Linked DNA regions of Homo sapiens: regions 2, 3 and 4 are each linked to region 1. The links are contacts of gene promoters, found by promoter capture Hi-C in blood cells and fetal thymus (Javierre and others, 2016). All regions are on one chromosome and are shown on one strand. The core of a region is centred on a gene start or on the middle of the fragment in contact, and the rest is flanking DNA. Distances in the headings are between cores, read along the strand shown.

Region 1 (3,332 bases), core at 331-2,830:
ACTGTGGCTCACGCCTGTAATCCCAGCACTTTGGGAGGCTGAGGCAGGCAGATCACGAGGTCAGGAGATCGAGACCATCCTGGCTAACACGGTGAAACCCCATCTCTACTGAAAATGCAAAAAATTAGCCAGGCGTGGTGGCACGTGCCTGTAGTCCCAGCTACTCGGGAGGCTGAGGCAGGAGAATTGCTTGAACCCAGGAGGCTGAGGTTGCAGGGAGCCGATATGGTGCCACTGCACTCCAGCCTGGGTGACAGAGCGAGACTCCGTCTCAAAATAAATATAATATAATATAATATAATATAATATAATATAATATAATATAATATAATATATAAAATTGGCCAGGCGTGGTGACACACATTTGTTGTCCTTGCCACTTGGGAGACCGAGGTGGGAGGATCACTGGAGCCCAAGAGTTCAGGGCTGAAGTGAACCATGATGCCGCCACTGCACTCCAGCCTGGGTGACAGAGTGACATCCTGTCTCTCAAAAATAAAAAATGTATATATTTTACAAAAATGTAAGTAAATACAAAGTCCCAGAAGGACGCAGGTGGTACCTAGGTGGCCAGATGCTTCAGGACTTTTCTACTCCAGGATGGATAGATGGGCCAAGTAAGAAGCAGGACCCAGATCACAGCAAGGAGCAAAATTTATGGGACGCTAAAAATGTCGCCAATCAAGATTAATTAATATTAATCTAACAATATTTAAGATAACTAACATTTAAGGCAATTTTAATACGCTTATTAATATTTAAAGCTATTTTAAAAATATCCGCAAACGAGGGCCCAAGGGCTGGCGCCTGATTTTGTAAATAAAGTTTCACTGGACGTTCCAGCAAGCATCTGTCTACTCAATAACCAGACTCCAGCATCCGCAATACCAAATGGCACCGTGTGTGTCCGTCGCTAGAAGCCACTTCCTCCACCCAAGTTAAAAAAAAAAAAAAAGGCCCCAAATAAGCTGAGAGACGAAGAAAAGATCGTTTCTCCGCAGGCTGCCAGGGGTTTCAGAGACGCTGAAGAGCAGGGACAGAAAGAAGTCTGCGGTGGCCCCCACCGGCCCTCGGCACCCACATTCTATCCGGCTAACCAGCTCCTGCCGCTTTAAATCCGGGAGGCTCGGTGGCGCAGGGCAAGCAGTTGCCCGGGGAGACCAACGCACAACAGAGGCTCGCGCTCGCGAGAGCCGACCGGGGCCGCGGCCAAAGAGCTGGCTGTAATCCCGCCTCCCGCCAGCCATGGCCCACTTGCGCTCGCCTAGCGGCTTCGGAGACCCGGGGAAGAAGGACCAGAAGGAGTCAGAGGAGGAGTTAGAGGAGGAGGAGGAGGAGGAAGAGGTGGAGGAGGAGGAGGAAGAGGTGGAGGAGGAGGAGGAAGAGGTGGAGGAGGAGGAGGAGGAGGTGGTGGAGGAGGAGTTGGTGGGGGAAGAGCAGGAGTTGGAGGCCCCTGAGACGTTCAGCGAAGAGTACCTCTGGAAGGTCACGGACATCGGTGACTACGACGACGACTTCCCAGACGTGCGCCCCCGCTTAGCCAGCATCGTCAGCCCTAGCCTGACCTCTACGTTCGTGCCCAGCCAGAGCGCGACCAGCACTGAAACGCCGAGCGCAAGCCCACCCTCCAGCACCTCCTCGCATAAAAGTACCGCCCCCGACCCACCCCTTCCTCGAGGGTTTCTCGTCTCCAGGGGGCACCTGGTCCACCCACTCCTGGGTGGTGCCTTCGTCGACCTGCGCGTCGTGCCTGATTTCTAAATGCATGCACCATTCCACACACCTAATCTCTCTCACGCCCTTGTCAGAGACACTGAACCCTTGGCTGAGCTGTTGTGATGAGGCACGATTTAGGATATAGGCGAAACACCATAAAAGTTGAACTTGGGCATGGCTGTATGAAGTGCTTTTTTTTTTTTAGACAAGAGTCTCGCTCTGTCGCCCAGGCTGGAGTGCAGTGGCTGCAGCCTCGACCTCCTGGGCTCAAGCCTCCCACCGCAGCCTCTCGAGTAACTGGAACTACAGGCACACGCCACCACACCCAGCTAATCTGGCGTCTCACTATGTTGCCCAGGCTGCTGGGAGTGCTCATTTTTATAACATTTTTGCGTGCATTCACACCGTGACATCTCTCTCTCTCTCTCTCTCTGTTCCCCCTCCCCTCCCTCTTCCTCCCCTCCCTCTCCCCTCCCCCTCTCTTTCTCTCTCCCTCTCTCTCTCTCTCACAGACACACACACACACACACACACACACTCATATTATTTCCAGAGAAGTGCCTTAAGGGTGCTGTACTACTGAAACAGTCCTGCAAAAAAAAAAAACAACTCTCTTTTGTGTTTAACATCCTGTGCTGAAGCCACTCCAGTCACTTCCTTGAAAAAAGAAGCAGAGAAGTCTTCTAGAGTAGGCTTCTCAAGCTCTAGTGTTGACATTTTGGTCTGGATAATTCTTTGTTGGGGAGGATTGGGGACTGTCCTGTGAATTACAGGATATTTGGCAGCATCCCTGTCCTCTACCCGTGGCTGTGCTAGAAGCACACATCCTTGCGATGATCAAAAATGTCTCCAGGCCGGGCGCGGTGGCTCACGCCTGTGATCCCAGCACTTTGGGAGGCCTAGGCGGGCAGATCACGAGGTCGGGAGATCGAGACCATTCTGGCTAACATGGTGAAACCCCGTCTCTACTAAAAATACAAAAAATTAGCCGGGCGTGGCGGCGTGCGCCTGTAGTCCCAGCTACTTGGGAGGCTGAGGCAGGAGAATAGCGTGAACCCGGGAGGTGGAGCTTGCAGTGAGCCAAGATCGCGCCATTGCACTCCAGCCTAGGCGACAGAGCGAGACTCCGTCTCAAAAAAAAAAAAAAAAAAAAAAAAGTCTCCAGACATTGCCATGTGTTCCTGGGGGGGGTAGAATTGACCTTTTGATTTAGAGGGAATAGCTGATTTTTAAATGTTTCATTCAACAGGTTTCCCTAAAATATTTCAGACATTTAGGAAAGACATGTCTGAAATGAGTATAGATAGGTAAGAAAATGTTTTCAAATTTCACATTTTTTGAACCCAATAATGTTTACCTTTTGGATAAACATGTTAGGAAGTAGAGTAAAATAATCCAGGGCATTTGTGACTTACTTATTTTAAAAAGTTTTTTTTAAATATACACTGGTAGACACTTTGAAAGAGATAAAGGTTCCCACTTATCCCCAGCTTATTACCTAGCTCTAGAGATTACATGTCCACTTATCAATGTAACATGAAAGAATAACTATATATGCCATGTGTGCAATTGTAAGTGCTTGAGAATTTTGAATATAGCTTTTATTGGCTAAATGC
Region 2 (3,332 bases), core at 1-2,500, 170 kb before region 1:
TTTCCCTGTCCTGTTAAATGCCTATGTTCTTTCTGAAGAGATACACAGAGTAAACACATATTCCTTCTAAAAGAAGTACACGAGAATAATGTAGACACCGCCAGCCACCCCGCTAATCTGCCACCTCACAGACTTAGGGCACTGTATTCACAATCCCAAGGTTAGTTTCCAAAGAACAATCTTTCTGCATTCATTCAAATTCATTTATTAAATGCATTTGCATTTGGCTCAAAGAATAATGTTTTAACTTAAGGACCATGTAGGAAATGAAACTTCAAGGTGAATAATAAATTATGTCAGAAGAGAAAGGCAATTAGGCTTGAATTGCGGATTATAGTATCTTTATCATTGGTGTTTTCACTGGGGATTTTAAATACACTGGACAAATAAGTGGATCCCTACAGACTTTGGGCTTATGTGGTCTTAATCTTACTTACATTGTGCTTTTCCTGAGGTGCGGGCCTGTTTTTTGTTTTATGGACACTACATTGTTTCTTACTGAATGTCTCTTTTGGAGTTGACTGCTTAGAGCTGAATTAAAAAACACACCAGTGCATTAGTAAGGAACTGCTCAGCTGCAAGTAAGAGATCTCACGAAAAGTCGCAAACAATAAAGATATTCCTTTTAACAAGAGCTGTCTAGCTAGGGGATCCATGACTCAGATCATCATGGTTCATCCTCTGAGTCTGAGAACAGGGCACTTGATATTAGAACAAAATCAGGGTTTTGTAGAAGGAAGAAAAGCAGGATGACTGTCGGGTAGTGTATCGGTCCTTACAAAAGCCAACTTTTAAATTGACCTCATTCTTGTATCCATTTTATGTTCCTTCCCTTATTCCTCCTTTGAATTTTTAATTTGTTTATAATTTATGTTAGTTTGCCATATTTTATATGGTATTGTAATTTGGGTTAAATTATTCCTGGAACAAGTCTATAAATAAGTAAAATAATGGAGGAAAGATTAAGTACCTACGTTTTAGATGTAAAAGTATAATTTTGATATATAAAACTATTAATTACTTTGTATATCAATGTTCAGTGAAAATAAGTTATTTTATCTTATAAACAGGGTACCCGGTAATACTTGATTTTTTTCTTCAGAGTGGAGACATGTTATTTAAAAATAACTGGAAGTGGCTGGGCGCGGTGGCTCACGCCTGTAATCCCAGCACTTTGGAAGGCCGAGGTGGGCGGATCACGAGGTCAGGAGATCGAGACCATCCTGGCTAACACGGTGAAACCCCATCTCTACTAAAAATACAAAAAATTAGCCAGGCGAGGTGGCGGGCACCTGTAGTCCCAGTTACTCAAAAGGCTGAGGCAGGAGAATGGCGTGAACCCAGGAGGCGGAGCCTGCAGTGAGCCGAGATCACGCCACTGCACTCCAACCTGGGCGACAGCGAGACTCCGTCTCAAAAAAAATAAAATAAAATAAAATAAAAAAATAAAAATAACTGGAAGTTTCTCAGAGCCATTAGTTCACTTTTAAACTTTGTTTTGAGAAAAATGACTTTTTTTTCAGCTTCTCAAATACAAAGCAGAAGAAAGCTGTTTGCTTGAAGACGGGGATATTAATTTTTCTGACTAGTCATCTAAACTGACTGTGTCTTTAGTGGGAATGAACCCTTGAGGCGATGGCAACTATTTTCCTCTTTCAAATATCAACTTAGACTGGAACATTCCCCCGAATTATTGTTTGCTCTTAGACAAGATGTGTGAATCATTTTTCCAAGAACATTCTCACCAATGTCACAAGACCCGTAGGAGCAGGCCAGGTTGGGGGAGGCCTAAGATTCCCTTCACTTCACACTGTGGAAATAACCCTGAATAGCAACTGGCTGAGACTGGACCTGAGCTGTCCAGGCTGTGGGCACTCTTCAGCCACACCTGGGCCTGCATTTTCTGTTAATGGTTGTAATTCCCTTGTCAGGGCCTTAGAGACATAATCATTCATTCATTCATTCATTCAATGTTTTTTATTTTATTTTTATTTTTATTTTTGAGATGGAGTCTCACTCTGTCGCCCAGGCTGGAGTGCACTGGTGTGACCTTGGCTCACTGTAACCTCCACCTCCCGGGTTCAAGCGATTCTTGTGCCTCAGCCTCCCAAGTAGCTGGGACTACAGGTGCACACAACCACTCTGGCTAATTTGTTTGTATTTTTTGGTAGAAATTGGGTTTCACCATGTTGGCCAGGCTGGTCTTTAACTCATGACCTCAAGTGATCTGCCCGCTTGGCCTCCCGAAGTGCTGGGATTCAGGCATGAGCTACCATGCCTGGCCATTCAATGTTTTTTAACATGCCCTATGTGCCAGGCACTATGCTTGATGCTGGGGAAAATCAGCACAGCGAGCAAAATCAGATGTGGCACACCCTCTTTTCTTATGAAACTTAGGCTCTTCTGAGGAGATGGCAATTAATCAAAAAGCACTTTAATAAAGATAAACTTGAAAACTAAGGGAAGAGATTTTGGGTGCGTCAATCTTATAATAAAGAACTGAAAGAAAAGGAAAAGGCATGTCTGAGGAAGAGATGGTTAGCTGAAGTAAGAAGGCTGCATAGAGATAACAGGGTAAGGGGAAGAAGGGCAAGCAGATGTGAAGCCCTGTGGTGAATGCGCCTGAGGAACAGAAAAGCCTGTGGGGCTAAAGAGTGGTTGTGAAGCAGCTGGAGCAAAAGGTGGGGCCACCGCAAGGCAGTGTAGACTATAAGGTGTGAGAAACCTTGGAAAGGTTTTAAGTGGCCTGGTAAGATTTGCATTTTGAACACATGCCTCAGAGTAGAACATGGATTGGAGAGAGCCCCAAGTGCATGCAGAGACCAGTTAGGCATGCGGAGACTAGTTAGTTAGGCAGTGGTGTGGACAAGAGATGGTCAGAACAGAATGGAGGCAATTAAAGTAGACTGAAGTGGGCCTCTCAGGAGACACCTCTTGGTAGGTAAAATGGAGAAGGCTGAAATAGGTTGCATGGGGAGGGAGATGAGGAAGAAAGAAAGAAGGATCAAGGATGACTTCTAGGTTTCTGATTTGATAACTGGATGGAAGGTTGTACCTTCACAGAACTTGGAAACACTCAAAACATACCAGATTTTGAGGGCAAGAAATCACACATCTAGTCTTAGACATGAAACATTCAAGTGGAAAGGTAGATTAATGGATCAGAAATAAGGATCTGGAAATCAATGGAGAGGTTTGGACCAGAGAAATAAATACACCTGGGAGTCACTAAGGGTAAGTAACATGGTGGCCTGGGGTAAGACTGCCCAAGGAGAGTATGAAGCAAGAAGATAGCTGGGCCTAATGCTGAGCCCTTAGGAATTCTCGTGTCA
Region 3 (3,332 bases), core at 5-2,504, 140 kb after region 1:
ACCCACTCATGATTCTCAACTGATTCTCAGTATCTCTTTCATTTACTTGGAAAAATTAGATTCATGAGAGTTCATACCTCTTGAAAGAACAAAAACTCAGGAGGTTTGTAAGCCAATAATGACCTATTATCATTTACTTATTCAAAAATATCAACATTATTAGAAAATGTTTCTTAAAATAAGCCCCTATAACTATTTTATTACATGAAACACAGTTATATGAAATGTTCATATAATGTATTATCATTAAGTATCTCTTTAAATATTTTGGAAAATGGCACAACATTTTCGACTCTACCATACACATCCCTTAGATGTTTTGTCTACTGTACTTCCTTTCACATAATAATTATTTAAAAGTCTTGATTTTAAAAGTCATTATTATTCTTAATCTTCAGAAATCTCTATCCAGCAGTTATTTACTTCCTGAATTTTCCCTTGAGCTTTTTCTTTTCCTTTAGCTCATAATGGCTCTTTACATTAACTTACCATATACCTTGAAATTACTTTCAATACATTGTTTATTTGGAGAGTACAAGATTCACTGTAGATCATAAATATTCACAAACACTATTTACTATCATAAAGACTAATTACTTTCTTATGAGGTTATAAACTTTATAACTTTTTCCCCCCCACTAAACGTAATTGATCGTGTCAGAGTATTTTTACACTGAGAAAATACTTACTAGTGTAAGGCTGCCACGTTGCCAGGACAGTATTTTTGGGTGAGAATTCAAGGCAAACTGCCTTCAGGAGGTCGAAGGAGTGCAGTAGTCCCTTGTTAGTGACACTGATAATATTTACTCTGGTTTCAAAAGAAATTATTTCAGCAATGAAATACTGTTTTATAGTAGTCAACACTAACCAAAACATTCATACCTCTTTTCAAATACAGATCACTCCAAAATGTTGACTTTTTTTTTTTTTGAGATGGAGTCTCGCTGTCTCCCAGGTTGGAGTGCAGTGGCGCAATCTCGGCTCACTGCAAGCTCCACCTCCCCGGTTCATGCCATTCTCCTGCCTCAGCCTCCCAAGTAGCTGGGACTACAGGTGCCCGCCACCACGCCCGGCTAATTTTTTGTATTTTTAGTAGAGATGGGGTTTCACCGTGTTAGCCAGGATGGTCTTGATCTCCTGACCTCGTGATCCGCCCGCCTTGGCCTCCCAAAGTGCTGGGATTACAGGCGTGAGCCACCATGCCCAGCCCAAAATGTTCATTTTTCATAAAAATCAACTTTAAGTTGGTTCTAGAAAATATGCGGGAAATACCTTAACTTCAAAAAAAAAGGGCCAGGTGCAGTCGCTCACACCTGTAATCCCAGCACTTTGGGAGGTCGAGGTGGGTGGATCACCTGAGGTCGGGAGTTCGAGACCAGCCTGGCCAACATGGAGAACCTCTGTCTCTACTAACACTACAAAAATTAGCCGGGCGTGGCAGTGGGCACCTGTAATCCCAGCTACTCGGGAGGCAGAGGCTGCAGTGGGCTGAGATCGTGCCACTGCACTCCAGGCTGGGTGACAGAGTGAGACTCCATCTCAAAAAAAAAAAAATGTATATTTTACCAAAAGGCTCCTATATAAGGCTAGTGCTGGGAAATGATATAAAATAGAAGACACATGGATGATTCCACCTTCAGCTGAAAAGGAAAAAAATGCCTTTAAGTGAACACAAAACTAATCTATAGAGAAGCTGAGGTCTATCAAACCAAAGGAAAGGCAGAGGTGCTAGAGAAAATGGCAAAAGTATACTTTTGTTTTATTTTTTATTTGAGATGGAGTCTCACTCTGTCACCCAGGCTGGAGTGTAGTGGCACAGTCTTGGCTCACAGCAACCTCCACCTCCTGGGTTTAAGTGATTCTCCTGCCTAAGCCTCCCGAGTAGCTGGGACTACAGGCGCATGCCACCACGCCTGGCTAATTTTTGTATTTTTGGTAGAGACGGGGTTTCACCATGTTGGCCAGGCTGGCCTTGAACTCCTGACCTCAGGTGATCCACCCACCCTGGCCTTCCAAAGTGCTGGGATTACAGGTATGAGCCACCGTGTCCGGCCCGCAAAAGTATACTTTTAAATTTGAATAAATGGGCCAGGTGCAGTGGCTCACACCTGTAATCCCAGCATGTTGGGAGGCTGAGGTGGGAGGACTGCTTGAGCCCAGGAGTTCAAAACCAGCCCGGGCAACATAGCAAGATCCCATCTCAATTAAAAAAAAAATTTTTTTTAAATAAATAGAAGCTATAGCAGCTAGGGAAATCAGTAAGGAGACATTTGATGTCTACTACAATCTCAAGAGCAATCTCTAAAAGATATGATTCTAAGAATTATTATGGTACAATGACAAAAATGACAATAATTGTATGATAAAAGCAGTTCCATTTTGGGATGTTTTCTATGTACCTAACCACTTTATGTACATTTTCTCATTTAATCCTTACAACAATCTTACAAATGTCATCATTTCTGTTTTACAAGTGCTGAAATTTAGGCTTAGAAAAATAAAATGATTTGACGATTTGCTCAAGATCATACTATTGATAAATGCCACAGCCAAGCTTTGAAATCAGTTTGGCCTGACTTACTGTTATGTACTAAACACTCTGGGGTGTTTAACAAAAAAAAAAAAAAAAAAAAGACTCTCCATCTTATTCCAGAAGTTGCTGTAAGTAACTTTGTTCTACTCAGGTTTGAGGAAGATAACTGAGGTTAAGATAAGCAGTCACTGAAAAGAATGAAAAATTACCACATAGTATTTAAACACACACACCTAACATGGAAATCTTTACAACTTGCTGCAAATAACCTATTTTAGAATTACAAGACGCTTTCTTGTTTTCTTCTTGTTGCTGTTGTTAACCTTTATTTTTTTCTTTGCTTTGCAACTGGAGCCTACTCAGAATTGATGGTCTTTAAGAGTTATTCTTAGTTTAATGAAGGATGTTTATTTTAATTAAGAAAAAACATATTTAAGGAAGAATCAGTAACGGTTTCTGACTTAGTTAACCAGAAACTGAACAAAGACCACAATCAATACATGAAATCTAGTTCTCTTGCCCCAGAACAATAAGTACCATTGTGGTCACAGCACTTTAATGAAATAAATGCTAGAACTTAATATAGAAGATATCTATTAAAATCATGGACATGACATATGGGGACATACTAAAAAGATTCAGAGTTGAATCCCATAGAAGGTTAAGTGTGGATATGAGTGAACTATTAACAATAACTGCCAAGGTAAAAACAGACTTATTCAACAAACTCTAAGCTAGAAGAACAAGGAATACTTCAAAAACAAACAAACAAAAAAAGACAATGAAAAGAAGTATAGTA
Region 4 (3,332 bases), core at 507-3,006, 150 kb before region 1:
GAAAAACTGTGCTAGATCCAGAGTTGGATTAGATTTGATAGTTAACTGAATTGAACTCAAGAGGCCTTGGGTAACTGACTGGGTTAGAGAGAAACTAAATTGAGTTGAGGGTCAAATTGATTGTCACAATTCAAGGAGTCTGAGATGACACCATTTGGGACTCCAGCTAATTTTATGTGTCAAAATTATGAGCCCAAATTGTGTGCGTTTTGGAAGAATGTGTTAACTTCACTAGAAGCAACTCAAAATTAAAGTGGCCATATATTAGTCCATTCTCCTGCTGCTATAAAGAACTGCCTGAGACTCGGTAATTTATAAAGAAAAGAGGTTTAACTGACTCACAGTTCCGCGGGGCTGGGGGAGCCTCAAAAAAACTTACAATCATGGCAGAAGAGGAAGCAAACATGTCCTTCTTTCCATAGCAGCAGCAAGGAGAAGTGCAAAGTGAATGGGGGAAAGCCCCTTGGAAAATCATCAGATCTCATAATAACAAACTCACTATCATGAGAAAAGCATGGGGGAAACACCCCCATGATCTAATCACCTCCCAGAAGGTCCCTCTCCCAACATGTGGGGATTACAATTTGGATTACAAGTCAAGATGAGATTTGGGTGGGGACACAGAGCCAGACCATATTGGGCCACAGTGGGAAAGTTTTAATTTGGATACAGTTGTTTATTTGCAAGAGACATTAGAAAAGAAGGAATCAAAAACTGTGTAAAAACAAGGAGATACATTTTTTAACCAGTATGCAGAGGCATCTAAAAGATTAAATAAATCAACATTTGCTTCCCTAAAAAAATTTGCAAAAGGCATATATACAAAGCTTAAACAACAACTAAGAATGTAACGAAAAAGGACGATACCCTCATTGAACTAACCCTTGCTGCTTTTTCTCTCCATCTATCTTTACTTCAATACTCTGAGTCCATTAACCTTCTTGTTCAATTACCGTTTCATTCTGGGGATAATAGAAAAAGGGGAAGTTAGTAGAGAATAGACTTTTCTTGCAAGTTCCACGTGCTGTGGAAAGCCCATTAAATTTTAGTCAAACTTAACATCTGTCAGTAAGTAGACTAACATCTTATTAAATTCTTTTGTCTTCTTCCAAACCCCACCTAAAACACTGCAGTCTGGGCATGATGGTTCACACCTGTAATCCCAATGTGTTGGGAGGCTAAGGTGGGAGTTCGAGACCAGCCTGAGCAACATAGCAAGATGCTGTCTCTACCAAAAAAAAAAAAATAATTAGCAGGCATGATGGCACATGCCTGTAGTCCAAGCTATTCGGAAGGCTAAGGTGGGAGGATCACTTGAGCCACGGAGTTCAAGACTGCAGTGAGTATGATCATGCCATTGCACTCCAGCCTGGGTGAGTGAGACCCTATCTTAAAAATAAAATAAATAAAACACTGCAACTTACTTAACCTTGAGACTCCACTACTTCTACTGTCTGACAGTGAAGACTATAACTATGTACATGTAATATTAGAATCAGTGGCCCCTCGTGTTGATTTACAAGATACTCCACTGGATAATCCTGAATAAATACTTTCTGTGGATGGGCCTTATTCCAAATACTCAGAAGGAAAATATCAGGCAGGGAATGCTGTTACAACCCAAACTGTATAGCAAGCCTTACCTGTTTAAGGTGTTTATTCTTGGCCATTATGTCTTAACTGGGCCTTTATCTATATCCTCCTTCCTTGATTTGGGCAAATAATGGTATTTAGACCTAAAGTCTCAGCTCTGTGCTTTTGAGATGGAAATTTTCTACCTTATTTACTAAGCCATTCCTTTGGAAATGCAAATTTGGGTTAAAACTTTTTAATAGTTGCCCCAGCACAGTGGCTGATGTCTGGAATCCCAGCACTTTGGGAGGCCAGGGCAGATGGATTGTTTGAACCCAGGAGTTCAAGACCAGCCTGGGCAACATAGCAAGACCTTGTCTCTATTTTTAAAATAATTAATTTAAAAAAATTTTAATAGTTATTAAAAACGGGGTAAGTAAAGCAAATAGTGATGGGGTTAAAACAAAAGGTAAATCTACCAAAGATTAGACAAAACAGAGGAACACCTGCCGGTCTGCCAACATTACAAGATCCCAAATCAATTCACTCTTTTTACCCCAGTTTGGAGAAATTTTTTAAAGTCAGAAGGCAGAAATTACAATGAACAACCTAGCTAACAATTACTTAGGGTAATGATCAAACAGGTCAGTAAAGAAAAGGCCAAAGGTCCCTTGATATAACCCCCTGATGGAATGGGATAAAAGTTGTTTAGGTGAACCTGTCATAGTTTCAAAATTCTTTTTCAGTGAAGTCTTAAAGTCATAATAAATTAAGAGAGATTCATAAAATGTCTGGGTTATTTCTAAGTAGGTTAAAATGCTAAAACTTTAATTTTTAAGCAAAAGTTTAATTTTACAAACTTTGGCATGTTTTTATACAGTCTAGAGAAGCTAATATGTGGGTCTGTTAATAAACAAAAATTGTGTTTTGAGAAAATGTTTCTAAAAATTATTTTAAATGCTGATACAAAACAGTTCAAAATTGCTCACTTCCTAGGTTTTCACTAGAAATTGGGGTTACTAATACTTAAAAAGTCGAATTAATATATGGCAATTAAAATTAGAAATAAGAGAAACAAAAAAAGTAAGACATGTTTTTGTAAGTGAAGCTTAGATGAAAAGTATGTTTTTGTTTTTTTAAAAAAAGTAATTTTTTCCTAAAGTAGAATGATTGATTGTCCCAAAATAAGAAAGAAGAAAACTATAGGACAAATGACTTAAAGGATATAAAATGTAGAAAGTTTATGAATCTTAGGAAATAAATTTTATGTGTGATCAGGGTGGCTAAAATTAGAAGGGAATTATAAGTTTTTTTTTAAAAATGGAGCATTAATATCAAAAGTACACTGATGCAAAAGTAGAATCTGGTCCTCTCCATTGAAACAGGATTTCCTTGGAGTAAGCCTCTTCTTTTAATAGGAAGTTGTAAAAGGTATTTTAGATAATTGGCCTGTGAAACAAAAGTAGGGTGTTTTATTAAAATAATTTCCTGTTCTTCATGTTGTCTTCTATTAGATCTTTGATTACTTAAGAAAATTGAGTCTTCTCAATATTAAAAGAGCTAAGTTTTTTGTCCAAAATGATGTAAACTTCTATATTTGCCTTTAAAATCTTTGATGGCCACTTTGCAGATTTTTAGGTTAAGTCAGCCAGTACTGAAATTGCTGACATCAGCAATTTGAATGAACTTTGTAAGGTTAATCCAATTCAACTTATATATGATAATCTATCTAATAAACAGGGCTATGCACCTGAATTGGA

What was found. Contacts are between HindIII fragments. The CHiCAGO score rates a contact against its expected background, and 5 or more counts as called.
Region 2: a fragment that was not itself captured here is called in contact with the fragment with the promoter of ERICH6-AS1 in region 1 in 9 of 17 cell types (activated CD4 T cells, fetal thymus, erythroblasts and 6 more); the score reaches 8.8 in activated CD4 T cells.
Region 3: a fragment that was not itself captured here is called in contact with the fragment with the promoter of ERICH6-AS1 in region 1 in 2 of 17 cell types (erythroblasts and megakaryocytes); the score reaches 6.2 in erythroblasts.
Region 4: a fragment that was not itself captured here is called in contact with the fragment with the promoter of ERICH6-AS1 in region 1 in 2 of 17 cell types (erythroblasts and megakaryocytes); the score reaches 6.7 in erythroblasts.

What each region holds. Positions count from the first base shown.
Region 1 is chr3:150,701,812-150,705,143 of GRCh38, reverse strand. ERICH6-AS1 (ERICH6 antisense RNA 1) reads right to left here and starts at 1,580. Exons shown (of 3, transcript NR_121675.1): 1 at 1,477-1,580. ERICH6 (glutamate rich 6) reads left to right here and starts at 1,224. Exons shown (of 14, transcript NM_152394.5): 1 at 1,224-1,648; 2 at 2,966-3,023. The coding sequence starts at 1,246. RefSeq lists enhancers at 1,029-1,118, 1,269-1,348. The HindIII fragment of the contact is 4,487 bases long and covers 1-3,332 here.
Region 2 is chr3:150,866,937-150,870,268 of GRCh38, reverse strand. No RefSeq gene overlaps it. Among named protein-coding and RNA genes, the nearest start is that of MINDY4B, 37 kb to the left of the region's middle. The HindIII fragment of the contact is 8,369 bases long and covers 1-3,332 here.
Region 3 is chr3:150,560,018-150,563,349 of GRCh38, reverse strand. It overlaps EIF2A (eukaryotic translation initiation factor 2A), which reads right to left. Exons shown (of 14, transcript NM_032025.5): 4 at 690-808. Among named protein-coding and RNA genes, the nearest start is that of EIF2A, 15 kb to the right of the region's middle. The HindIII fragment of the contact is 2,605 bases long and covers 1-2,556 here.
Region 4 is chr3:150,847,541-150,850,872 of GRCh38, reverse strand. No RefSeq gene overlaps it. Among named protein-coding and RNA genes, the nearest start is that of MINDY4B, 56 kb to the left of the region's middle. RefSeq lists an enhancer at 1,499-2,000. The HindIII fragment of the contact is 1,853 bases long and covers 830-2,682 here.